2 separate regions of the Homo sapiens genome follow, and region 1 is linked to region 2. Evidence: promoter capture Hi-C in human tissues and cell types (Jung and others, 2019). All regions are on one chromosome and are shown on one strand. The core of a region is centred on a gene start or on the middle of the fragment in contact, and the rest is flanking DNA. Distances in the headings are between cores, read along the strand shown. Region 1 overlaps BTRC (beta-transducin repeat containing E3 ubiquitin protein ligase). Region 2 holds the start of PDZD7 (PDZ domain containing 7).

Region 1 (6,337 bases), core at 1,194-3,693, 400 kb after region 2:
GTAATAATATTTTTTCTCAGTGTTAAGTGGCATTTACCAGTATAGATAAGATTAATTGTTACAAAACAAACCAATTTGAAGATTAGTTTTTAAATTGAGCCATAATATATAAAATCTTATGGTAATGTGCAGATCTGACTATATTCAAGTATAGTTTTCATACCCATACCAATTGTCTTGTAATAATCGGGAATGCATCCTCTGTGTGGTGTTTGCAAATTAATGCTATTTTGGAAATCACACCGGTATATCTAGTGGCTTTCCTGGGTGTATGTGGCTCATTACTGATTATAATTTTCTTTGGGAATTTTAGTTTAAGGGGATGGGGTAAGCACTTTCAAATTCTTTGTTGTTAGTAGTTTTGATGGAGGATAGGGATAAATGAATGAGGAAGTGTGTTAGAACGAGTAAGTAAACTCAGATAATTTATCAAGTACATACTACAAAAATAACGCAGATTTTTATGTAAAACGGAGGAGACAAATCATTCACAAGAGGAAAGCCTTAAAAACTTACCAAGGAGCATTCACAAAAATAAATATGTATATTTTAATTTTAAAAAGAGCCCCAAGTCTGTGAATGAAAGGGTTCTGGTTGGTTTCTAGACCCAGCTGTGCTTGCTGTATGCCATGCAGGTGGCTTTAGTATGGTTAAAAGTGTCGCCTGCCCTCTTGTGAAGGGAAGCAGGAGAAGCGACAAGCTACCTTCCAGTGCCTCCTCGATTTTCTTCCACTATTTCCTTTGTCCTTTTCCTGTGTTTTCATGCTCTATTTATTTACACCCACTTCTGACTTCTCTTTTTTCTCAGATTCAATCTTTCCTTCCGAATGACTGTGAGATTTTTTTCTACCCAGCACACACAGAAACTTAACCAATTGCGTATGTACAGCATTTCCATTTCTTTTTTCTTTCTTTTTTTTTTTTTTTTTTTTTTTGAGACGGAGTCTTGTTCTGTCGCCAGGCTGGAGTGCAGTGGCACAATCTCAGCTCACTGCAACCTCCGCCTTCCGGGTTCAAGCGATTCTCCTGCCTCAGCCTCCTGAGTAGCTGGGACTATAGGCGTGCACCACCATACCCAGCTTATTTTTGTATTTTTAGTAGAGATGGGGTTTCACCGTGTTGGCCAGGATGGTCTTGATCTCTTGACCTTGTGTTCCACCCACCTTGGCCTCCCAAAGTGCTGGGATTACAGGCGTGAGCCACCGTGCCCAGCCTGTGTACAGCATTTCTTATAACAATGAGTTACTTTTATGTTAAGGATTTTTTTTTTTTTTTTTGAGACGGGTCCCTTCCTTCCTTCCTTCTTCTCTTTCTTCTCTTACTTTCTTTTCTTTCTTCTTTCTTTCCACAGGGTCTTGCTTTGTTGCCCAGGCTGGTGTGCAGTGGCATGATCACCGCTCATTGCTGCCCTGATATCCCTGGCTCAAGCAGTCCTCCCATCTCAGCCTCCCCAAGTAGCTAGGACCACAGGCATGTGCCACCATGCCCAGCTATTTTTTAAATTTTTTGTAGAGATGGGGTCTCCCACATTACTGAGGCTGGTCTTGAACTTCTAGGCTCAAGGGATCCACCTGCCTCGCCCTCCCAAAGTGCTGGGATTATAGGATTGAGCCACCACATCTGGCTCCAGGACAGTGTCTACTACCAGAACAGCATTTAATAAGTATTTATTGAATAAATGATTAAAATATTAGCCTTAAGAAAATTTTAGTATCATTTACTTAAAAAATTAGCAAAGCATTCTTAATACGTATAAAGAAGTAATATGAGTAGAATGTGATTCTCAACAGCAAGGAAGCTTTTTTTACCCTATTTTCTCCATTCTCTTTCTGTTGCCTTCTCCTTCCAATGTGAGAATCTCTGCTATTAAGAACCGCTGGCAGAGACTGAAATTAGTATACATAATTCTAAGGAGATATTGATGTAAATGGTCGATATGGATTGGCAGGATGACAGGGAGAAGGAAATTATAAGTTTAAAGACAGGGGTAAGATGAGTATTTGAACAAAATATCAAGGTAGGTAGTTAGCTAGAGTGCCAGGGCCAATTAGAAGATTAGAGAAGGTGAGTTGATGTTGGCAGTGGGGGAAATGTCAGATTGACAGAGTGCTTGGATTTCATACAGTAGATATCTCATCATGAATTATTGATGAGAGTGACATGATAACAAAGTGAAGACAATTATTTTTCTATTTAGCTGCTGTTTATAAAATGGATCGTAGCTTGAGGTGAGGAAACGTTGAAAACAGTGAACAAAGTTCAGAGATTGTTGGAGTAATTCAAAGCAGTTTAGCTGTTTTGCTTGGTATGTTATCTGGTGATGCCTTTAGCAGATACCCTTCTTTTGAAGCCCAGTGTCCACTTTATGACTGAGGGATGGATGGAGGCAGGAGGAAGAATTCTGCACTAGAAAGCAACAGGCCAAGATTCTAGTCCCTACTTCCCTACTTTGTAAATTCATAATCATGGATAAATACTTAATTTTTCCTGGGCATCAGTCACCTTACCTATAAAATGAGGATAATGTATTAAGCGTAGTCCTATGGGTGGTAAATAAAATGAGGATAATAATCTAAAATCAGGGGATATACATAGATCTCCTTTGGATTTATTTGCAGCCCATTATCTATCTATCTTTATTTAGATAAGAGACGGGATCTTGCTGTGCTGCCCAGGCTGGATTTGAACTCCTGGGCTCAAGCGATCCACCCATCTCAGTCTTCTGAGTAGCTTGGACCACAGGCACAAACCTCTTGCATGGCTCTCATTGTCCATTTATCAATTTTAGATGGTGTAAACAGTGAATACCATATTTTGTTTCCCAATATTACTTTCTACAACTATATTGTTTTAAGGAGAAAAAAGTCTATGACAATATAAAATATTTCAAAGTCTGTAATTTTAAGGTTTAATGTTACCTATATTGACTACTATATTTTAAAATATGTATCCCTGTTTTTATATGTGCCATGATTAGGTATTTAGTTTTTTAGTTATTATTAGACTGTAATAGCACTCAAGTTGATGGATAAAATTTCATCCTGGGATACTTTTAGAGAAACATGAAGAATATAAAAATAGTTTTGAAAAGTATGGTTTCTTTCTTACAAAGCTGTAGCTGCAATAATACTAATGTCAGTTACTTAGAGCTACTAGAAATGTGTAATTTCTACCTTTTTTGACTACTGAATATACCATATGTATTATATATATGTACATTCTTAGGTATTTTTGTTTGTTTGTTTAGAAGGTTTTAATACCAACAGCTTTCTAGGTGTCGTCTTCTTCCTCTTCCTCTCCCCTCCCCCCCTCCCCTCCCTCCCTTCCTCCTCCTCCTCCTCCTCCTTTTTCTTCTTCTTCTCTCTCTCTCCTTTCTCTCTCTTTTCTCTCTCCTTTTTCTCTGTCTCTCCTTTCTCTCTCTCTGTGTCCCTGTCTCTCTTTGTTGTTGTTTTCCCTTCTGTTTGGGTTGTTTCTTCCCCTCGCCTTATACCCCCCACCCCCCACAGACCCCAATCCATCTGGAAAGATGAAGAGGCAGCTGCTATGGTAACTGTGCATTTTGGTTAATGAATAGCAGACTAACAAGATACATAAAACATACGCAAACTGTGCAGAGTTTGTTGCTGTCAAAGCCGTAGGGATACAATACTTTTTCTTTTCCTTCTAAAAAAAAAAAAAACTCTCTTAACTGTGGTGTTTTGTTTTCTAATTTACCATTCCTAATATTGTAATGTTTCTGTGAACTCCTCCTCTTTCTGCTTAGTCTGCACAGTATTACACCCTGTGGTGAGTTTATGGGAGCTGAGTTGAGGTGCATAGAGGAAAATAATTGATCAACTGGATTAAGAAGTAGATTTCCTTTAGACTGATACATAGAAGAATAGGGACAAAATGTTTTTGACTAAATGTTTGGTTTTTTGAACGATAACTTCTTTTTTTACCTCCTTTCCTTTTGGCCACTACTGCCCCTTTTGGGATTCTCTCTGGGGTTAAAGCCAGTAAGTAGTGTGTTTCTTAAAGATGTTTCTATCATAAAGGTCAGCTGCAACTGGAATATTGCGTTCAGCCAAGCCTTAAAAATTCCTGTAATCTGTGCCATCCTGTCTCATACTGTCCCATCTCATAGTTGTCCTCTCTCTGCAGTGCTCTATGCCCAGGTCTCTGTGGCTGGGCTGCTCCAGCCTGGCGGACAGCATGCCTTCGCTGCGATGCCTGTATAACCCAGGGACTGGCGCACTCACAGCTTTCCAGGTACTTTCTCTGTCTCTGTGGGTTATTTGCGGGCATTAGTGTATGTGTCTAATTCATTAGTATGTGCCTCCTCCTTTCCCATACTTTACTTATATTCATCTTTTCTCCTTCATATTGCCTGTATCTCACATCACTCAGTACTCCTTTAATGATTAGTTTATAATGTAGACCCAGACTGATCCACTCTTAAGACAATGTCATCATGATTGGTTACAAAAATTGACATAGTACAGCTTGACTGTTGGCTTTCAGATCAAGTAGAAGTATGATAGTAGATTTTAAAGTAATCTCAATAAATAGCAGTTCAATACGTAATATTTGCTCTGGACCTACATAAAGCCAATTAGTATAATCAATCAATTAATTACAATCAGTTTCCTGAACATTTTCTTATTTTTTTTAAATGATTACTCAAAGTATAAAGTGCCCTCTTCAGAGTATCTCCTGGTAATTATACTACTAAGTATATATTTTTTATAACTGTTTTATTTATATCTTGATTAACATTTCTAATTTCTAGGTGGAAAAACCTTTGAGACCTTTAGGTACAGTATTCACCTTGAGACACTCTAGCTAGTGTTTCATGAATTAACAGATTCCAGTTCCCCTCAGCCTTTCTTTTTTTTTTTTTTTTTTTTTTTTGAGACGGAGTCTTGCTTCATGGCGCAAGCTGGAGTGCAGTGGCGTGATCTCAGCTCACTGCATCCTGCGCCTCCTGGGTTCAAGCAATTCTCCTGCCTCAGCCTCCTGAGTAGTTGGGATTACAGTTACGCGCCACCACGCCTGGCTAATTTTTGTATTTTTAGTAGAGACTGGGTTTCACCATGTTGGCCAGGCTGGTCTCGAACTCCTGACCTCAGGTAATCCACCCATCTCGGCTTCCCAAAGTGCTGGAATTACAGGCAAGAACCACCGCACACAGACCCCTCAGCCTTTCTTAGAGGCCAGGATGTCAGTTCCAGGATGTGCGAGAAACTTATAGAGAAATAATGTGGAAAATTGTAGACAAAAACGTAGGAAAGAGTTTGGTGCTCATTGCTTACAGATTAGGGTACCATACATGATTGTTTTCTTGACTGAGTCTTATCTGCGTACCTCAGGTATTTGGAATTTGTGTTTAGCATTTTATAGTAATACACAACAAATTAGTTTTTATATTAATATTTGCCTGCTTTTAACCTGTTGTTCATATCTATTTAGAAGAATTTCAAAGATAGGCTGTAAGTGTCAGAAGGCTTGTGACTAAATTTTAGCTAAAAGAGGGGAACTTAGGTTTTCCACATTCCTAACCTATGCTAAGAGTTGTTAATTTTTAATGATACTATTTAGTGATCATAAAGCTGGATATTTTCATTTTTCCTTTACAAAATTTAATATCTTAAGATTTTCAGTTTTCCTTTACAAAATTTAATATTAAACTTCCTTGGCTTATACTATGAGATACAATATAGTAAAGCATGCAGGTTCTAAAATTAGCTAAATCAAGTCTTGAATATTGTCTTTGTCACTAGTGGTATGATCCTGAACTTATTTCCTTATCTGTAAATGGATACTATAGTAAGGGCATGCAGTGATGGTAGCTGCTTTTATCATGATCGTTATAAACATTATTGCTATTATTGGAGAGTAATTGATATCCTGAGACTGCTTATTTATTTCAAAGTGAAATATCTTTTTTTTCCTTTTTTTTTTTTTGAGACAGTCTTGCTCTGTTGTCCAGGCTAGAGTGCAGTGGCACAATCTCGACTCACAGCAACCTCTGCCTACTGGGCTCTAGTTGCCCTCCTACCTCAAACTTCCGGGTAGCTGAGACTACAGGCACACGACCACACTTGGCTCATTTTTCTATTTTTTTTGTGGAGATAGGGTTTCACCATGTTGTCCAGGCTGGTATCGAACTCCCCAGCTCAAGTGATCTGCCTGCCTCAGCCTCCCAAAGTGCTGGGATTACAGATGTGAGCCACTGCACTTGGCTATATCCTATATTTTTAACTACATATCATACTGACAAGGTTCTGCCATTGAAGAATCCATAGTCTAGTTTGTTGGTTTTTTTGTTTTGTTTTGTTTTTTAACCTTTTCGGGG
Region 2 (6,858 bases), core at 4,359-6,858:
ATTTTATTTATTTATTTATTTATTTATTTATTTATTTATTTATCTGAGACAGAGTCTCGCTCTGTCGCCCAGGCTGGACTGCAGTGGTGCGATCTCAGCTCACTGCAAGCTCCACCTCCCAGGTTCACGCTATTCTCCTGCCTCAGCCTCCCGAGTAGCTGGGACTACAGGCGCCCACCACCACGCCCGGCTAATTTTTTGTATTTTTAGTAGAGACGGGGTTTCACCGTGTTGGCCAGGATTGTTTTGATCTCCTGACCTCGTGATCTGCCCGCCTTGGCCTCCTAAAGTGCTGAGATTACAGGCGTGAGCCACCACACCCGGCCAATGGAAGAGATTTTCTAAGACAGATAGTAAGCCTCCCATCTTTGGAGGCATGCAAGCTGGGACCCAGCAAATCTCTGTCTGGGATGTTATGGAATCCCTGAGGGTCCTCCCATCTGTTAGACTCTGTGATTCTGGAAGTCAGAGTTCTAGGAACTACCTGGCTACAAAGGGAAAGAAACCCCAGACCACACCACACTGCAATACGTATGTGCCCAAGGCGGCCCTCTCCATCACGCTGGGGAAAGTAGGCGGGGAAGGGGGTTCCTAAAGGTTGAACCTGTCGGGGAAGAATTTTTTTTTTTTTTGAGACGGAATCTCGCTTCTTCTCCCAGGCTGGAGTGCAATGGCTCAATCTTGGCTCACTGCAACCTCCACCTCCTGGGTTCAAGCGATTCTCCTGCCTCAGCCTCCCTAGTAGCTGGGATTACTGGCATGTGCCACCATGCCGGGCAAATTTTTGTACTTTTAGTAGAGACAGGGTTTCACCATGTTGGCCAGGCTGGTCTCGAACTCCTAACCTCAAGTGATCCACCTGCCTCGGCCTCCCAAAATGCTGGGATTACAGGTGTGAGCCACCTTGCCCAGGCCAGGTAAGGTTTCTGTAAGGACTCTGATGGGTGGGATTTTGATGGGTGGGGGGTAAGGGGGGGCACTGATGAGGGGGAAAGAGCCAGGGAGGCTCAGCTGTGGGCCCTTGAGGAGGCCTTCCAGTTACAGAAAAGCAAGAAGGCTGGAGGGGTAAGTTGGGTCCCAGGTGAGAAGCTGAGATTTCTTCATAGGTAAGGGTTACTCTAGAGGTGTTTGACAGGGAGAAATCACACACACACACACACACACACACACACACACACACACACACACACACTTCAATTTGATCTAAGAGAAGTCAGGTTACAGGGCACGGCCAGGGCAGCTCAGAAAGAAATCCCCGAGGGCAGCCTGGGGGGAGGGGTGGTGCAGGACAGATGTGGGGGGCCAGGGCTTTCCCAGCTGATTAGATTACACAGATCTCAGGACACTTTCAGCCTTAGCCAAGGAGCCTTTTACTCCCTTGCTACCAACCCTCTCTCCTCAGGGCCTCACTGGGGCCTCCCTAGGGCCCTAGGTCAGGGAATGTGAAATCTGAGATTTTCCAGGAGCCTGAGCCCTGCAAGGATGGAATCTTCTCTACCTCCACTGCCCCAGCCTCTCCCCCAGGTGCTCCACTGCAGCCCCGGCACTATCCTTGCTTCCACTCTTGCCGCCTTTAGCTATTCTCTATACAGTACCCAGAGTCAGCTTTTACATTAGCTCATGTCTTTTCCCTGATTAAAAACTTCAACACCTGTTCCTGCTTCTAGAACTCCAGTCTCCTCACCATGCCCTATAAGGCCCTGCCTGGGCTTTCCTCTGCCCACCCCTCCGCCCTCCCCTCCACCCTCCCCTCCCTCACTGAGCTCTGGCCACACTGATCTTCCTGTTCCTCATGGAGGCCAAGCCCTTCCAGTGTTCCCTCTGCCTGCAGTGCTCCTGCCCAGGCCTTTAGAAGGTCAGCTCCTCTTCCTCGTTCCCCTCCTGGCTCAGACACCACTTTCTTGGAGAAGGCTTCCTGGAGTGTCCTCCCTTCCTCCCAGTGAGTACCTCTTGTAGGGCTTCTCAAAGCGTAATCCTGGATCAGCAGCGTCAGTGTCATCTGAGAACTTGCTAAAAACGGGAATTCCTTCGCTTTACCACAGACCCACTGGACCAGAAGCTCTGGGACTGAGCCCTGCAATCTATCCCTGAATGAGCCTTCCCGGCAATTCTGAGGCATCTGAGGTTTGAGAAGCACCATTCTATCATGTCATCAGATGATCACATTCTGACTCTTCCCATCCTTTGTCGTCGTTCGCTTATTTGTGATTTATCTGTCTCTTTTCACTAGACCATAAGTTCAATCATGGTGGGGACTTCGTAATACTCTTCTAGTATATCTCCAATATGTTGGACAGTGCTTGGTATTTGATAGGTATTTTTTTTGAATAAGTGAAAGAATAAATGGATGGATGGATGGTCAAACTAGGAGAGTGAGGAGAAATGCATTAAGGGTAATGCTTTCCTGGATTAAAGGTAATGCATTTTCTCTGGGACCAGTTGAATTTAAGGAGCTGGTGGGATCTCATGGGGCCGATGTAGGTGGCAATGTCACCGTTTATTCCTTATCAGTTACTTTACTCCCCGGGAGTGATCTAAATAATAACATGGGGCAGGGTTCCAGGCTGCGGTGACTTGGGAGATACCTGTTCTCAGGCAGAGGGGAGAATTCTGAGCTCAGAGGGTCCCAGTCCAGTCAGAGGAGAAGCCAAGTGGTCAGAGCAACTCCTCAGTCCCTCACTGCTAGGAGATGCTGCTTCCTTGGCTGCACAGTGGCGCTAGCATGAGGCAGAGGGAGAAAGCAATCATGAAACCCCTGGAAGAGGATCTTTAGAGGGACAGTATAGGCCAGGCATGGTGGCTCATGCCTATAATCCCAGCACTTTGGGAGGCTGAGGCCGGAAGATCACTTGAGCCTAGGAGTTCAAGACCAGCCTGGGCAACATGGTGAAACTCTGTCTCTACAAAAAATAAAATAAAATAAAATTAGCTGGGCTTGGTGTTGCATGCCTATAGTTCTGGCTACTCAGGAGGCTGAGGCTGGAGGATCACTTGAGCCCAGAAGTTTGAGGCTGCAGTGAGCTATGATCACACCACTGCACTTCAGCTTGGGTGAGCGACAGAGCAAGACCCTTTCCCTCTTAAAAAAAAAAAAAAAGACGTTATAAACAGCGCTTGCATCATACATGGGCAAAGGGAAGGGGAGAGAGAGAGAAACAGAAAGAGTGTATCAGAGGGAGTATAGCATAGTTCTTTTAATAGAATGGGACTAATAAAGACAGTTATGCGGTGCCTGCTTCCCTTTTCCCCAATGTCTCCTAACTCCTCTGGGGACTTCTGCTCCCTCACCAGAATGACCGTGGTGACCCTCAGCAGTGCCCTGTGCTCACCAGAGGGTGAAGCATAGACTGGTGTATGACAGGGGTGAGCGTGCCAGGGCACTGGTGGAGGAAAGCCTGCTCCCTGAGCAACATGCCCCACCCTGCTCCAGTGGCCTAGGGAGGGGAAGAGAGATGCCCTGCTGGGTCAGAGGGGGAGGAGCAGGGCCTGAACAGTCCAGTCTGGGATCCAGCCAGGGGAGCTCTGCTGGCTAAGAAAGAGGAGAGGAGCTGGAGATATTTATCTGGTCCTGCTCACAGAAAGCTCAGACTCAGGGGGCCTGGCTCCGCACCTGGCATTCTAGGTCCTGTCTTGCTCATCAGCTGTTAGTCACCTCACATCTGTCACTACAGCCAGGCTGGCTCCTAAGTGCCCACCTACCATGCTCCATGCTTTTCACTTCCAGCCTTTGTTGGTGACAGCTCACCCCTGCCACCAGCTGTTCTTATTGCTCTGTCCTGCTACACTGTAGATTCCTGGAAGGTGAAGAGGGAGCCTGATTTCTCTCTAGGTCCCTTGTAACACCTCCCCAGGGCTGGTATAGAATTGTGCTCCATGAAGCGGCATTAAGCAACTACATAAGCTTAGGTCTCCCCTTCCCTGATGGAGCTCCCTCTCCACCCTCAACCCTCCTCTTCTGAACATTTGCTGTGCTGCCTTCATTCCCCTCCTTCAGCACGGAAGCCCTGAATTCTGTCTACCCGCTTGGGCACTGACTCCTCGCAGCCCAGCACAGAGCTTGTCACACAATGGACTGGTTGATGGAGGATGTCCTTCTTTATCCTGCCCCATCCCCCAGAAGTACACACAATGGATCTGGAGAAGGGCAGAGCCCATGGGAGAGAGGCCAGTTCAATCCCCTGCCTTGTCCACCAGGGGCTAGCATACCACACGCATGCCTGTCCCTGCTGCCATGGCCTTCTTTCCCTCCTCTGACCCTTCTACGACCCTGGACCCCTGCAGGATTGGCCTGGAGGAGAGGCCAAGGGCAGGTGAGGAAGAGTGTATGGGTTCCCAGGCGGCCTGCCACCTCCCTGTGACTCCCATCTCTTGAATTCCCCCAATCATACTGGCTCTGCCTCCTCCTGCTGAGTTCCCATTGTCCCCTACCCCCACCCTCCCCAACCCAGGCCAGTGGCTGGGTCCCGCCCCTACCTTCGATGGGGGAGTTGATGAGGATGACGCGTCCCATGGGCGATGAGGCTCGGATTCCGCGGGGGGGCCCGTTCAGCAGCCGTTGTTGCTTCCTTAGCAGGTATCGCGTTGCGGTGGAGCCTGAGTCGCTGCCTAGGTGGCCTCGGGAGGAGAGGGAGCTCAGAGAGCCGGAGCTCAGGTCTCCTAGGCCCAGTGGGTCGAAGCCCACTGCGAAACCCTGCGCCATGGCGGCTGGGCTAGGGCGGCACCCTACAGGTCCAGAAGGAATCTGCTAGCTCTGGAGAGGCCAGCCCTGCGTGCTTCGAGCTCCATGAGCCTCTGTGCGGGGCTGGGGTCTCAGTAACGTGAAGGCCCTCGCTTGCGATGCCTCTCAGAAGTGTGAGCTCCAGGCCTGGGCAGGGAGAGCAGGGATGAGGGAGGGGTGTAAATGTTTCCCCTGCTGCCCCCTAAAACTTCCACCCCTCCCCCTGGTTTAAGCATCCTGCCCTCCCATGCCTTAGGCCCCCCTCCTGTCTCACCCTAGGCCAGAGAACTGCCCCGTCCAGGCACCATCTTGGACTCTCGCTGACTTTATACAAGGCAGGTGGGAACCTTTCACCCCTCATTCCTGCTCGGGGCTGAGTCATCTACTCCCGTCCCCAGTCCTCAGTAGAGGTTGAGAGTGGAGTTGGGATTACTGCGGGCCCTGGGGCTTAGAGAGGTGTGAGACAAAAGAGAGGTCAGGACAGCTCATGGCATCACCTCTCTCATGCATATGCGGGCATGGAGGTGGCCCGGGGTGGGGCGGGGGCTGCGTGGGGCGGGCTGGGCCTCGAGGATAGGGCTTCAGGACCTTAGACAGCTGAGGCCCAGGAAGACCCCCAGACACCCGCGGGCTCCAGGCTGCGGCTCCGGGTCTAAAGAGGCTGCATGAACCTCTCCCAAGCTTTGGGGAGGATCTGCTGGAGAGGGGTCCCACGACATCCCGCGCAAAACCCAGGGCCAGTTCCCTCAGAGAAGCTCTGGGACCTAGAATGAAGCACCCCAACATCAACTCGGCCCTCCAGGCCCCCCACCCCTTTGTGCCTGGTCGGCCTCACCTGGTCGCTGGTGTGGCGCCGCCAGCCTTGTCAAACCACCCGCAGGCGAGAGCTACTGCCGCAGCCGGCAAACCCCACCCACGCTGCGCGGAGGCTGCGGGAATTGGGCTGGCCTGCACCGCCCCGGGCTCCCATTGGCTGGTAGGGCCGCCAGTCATTCTATTCCGGCACCTCCCTTAGGCGCCAGGGACAGCCGAGCGTTACCTGGTCCCGGGCAGCGGAGTTCTTTACCCACCCCAGTTCTGGTTCTGACGCCCTAGCTCATTCCGCAAATTTAGGGCTTGGGTCTGGCTTGTTCCCCTCCGGCTCGAACCACCTCTTCTCTGAGCCGAGCCAGCTACCGGGGCTCCTGGAATTGCCACCCCTCCCTGGGCACCCTTGAGGCCTCCGTGGAGGGACGTCACGGGGCAGAGCGGGACGTGAGCCTGAGTTTGCTGCAGGCGTGCTCTGTGTGGTGGCTGGGTGAGTTGTGAGTATGTGCGTGGCGGAGGGGGTGCCTTCTTCACTTGCATCCTCCTCCTCTGTCAGAAGGCGTCTCTGGCTACCCAGTTCTGGAATGGTCGCAGGGTGGGGCAGCTGGTCCCAGGACCGGAAGAATCCTAAGAATCCTTCTGATGCACTTGCTCGGATGCAGACCGCGAGGTTCCTGGGGTCGTCTGCCCCTCCACATCTCAGGGGTGGGGCTACGGTCTGGGGTGCAGGGCTAGGGGTTGGGAGCGTAAGGAGACCAGGGACACAGTGGAGCTAGGGGTTACAGAGGGGGAGCAGGGAGAGGGCTGGGGACATAGAAGAGGCACAGGCACGACAGGAACGGGGCTGTGAAGTGATGCGAATGCCGCGCTGCTACAAGAGGAGCTTGTGGATACTGGGGTAGGAGCCCAGGGGGACAAGCAAGCCAAAGGCCATTGCCAAGGCAGCCATCAAGTAAACAAGCCAGGCGGTAACCCGAGTCCCTCCCGGCGCGCCAGCAGAGGACCGCCCCTCCACACCGCCCACCTGCGCCCGGGGCTTTCTCTCTGGGCACCTAGACCGCTTGCTGCAGGGCTGGGGGTCTGCTGAGGCCCGCCAGGGGACTGTAAACCAAGGGAGCAGCGCCCGCGGCTCCAGCCCCTCCTCCCTTTGGCTGGGGAGGGGGCCAGAACTGATCCCCGAGGTGGGATTGGCTCTGGGAAGCAGCTTAGGGCCTGGTCCAGGTGGCCCAGGCTGGGGGCATCGCCTCGAATGACACCCACCGCCCTCAGGTTCTGCCAATCCCCGTGCCCACCGGGTGGGCGCGGCCGGGAAGCTCCTGCCCCTCCCTGCTGGT

The links. The method cuts DNA at HindIII sites, captures the fragments that hold promoters and counts their contacts. A contact is called where the count stands out against the background at its distance.
Region 1: a contact is called between a fragment that was not itself captured here and the fragment with the promoter of PDZD7 in region 2, in 1 of the 25 tissues and cell types used here (lymphoblastoid cells).

What each region holds. Positions count from the first base shown.
Region 1 is chr10:101,426,202-101,432,538 of GRCh38, forward strand. It overlaps BTRC (beta-transducin repeat containing E3 ubiquitin protein ligase), which reads left to right. Exons shown (of 15, transcript NM_033637.4): 2 at 4,144-4,251. Among named protein-coding and RNA genes, the nearest start is that of BTRC, 75 kb to the left of the region's middle. The HindIII fragment of the contact is 4,349 bases long and covers 270-4,618 here.
Region 2 is chr10:101,025,521-101,032,378 of GRCh38, forward strand. PDZD7 (PDZ domain containing 7) reads right to left here and starts at 5,609. Exons shown (of 17, transcript NM_001195263.2): 1 at 5,553-5,609; 2 at 4,474-4,864. The coding sequence starts at 4,699. It overlaps SFXN3 (sideroflexin 3), which reads left to right and starts at 5,714. Exons shown (of 12, transcript NM_030971.6): 1 at 5,714-6,014; 2 at 6,794-6,858. RefSeq lists an enhancer at 6,027-6,236. The HindIII fragment of the contact is 6,870 bases long and covers 4,650-6,858 here.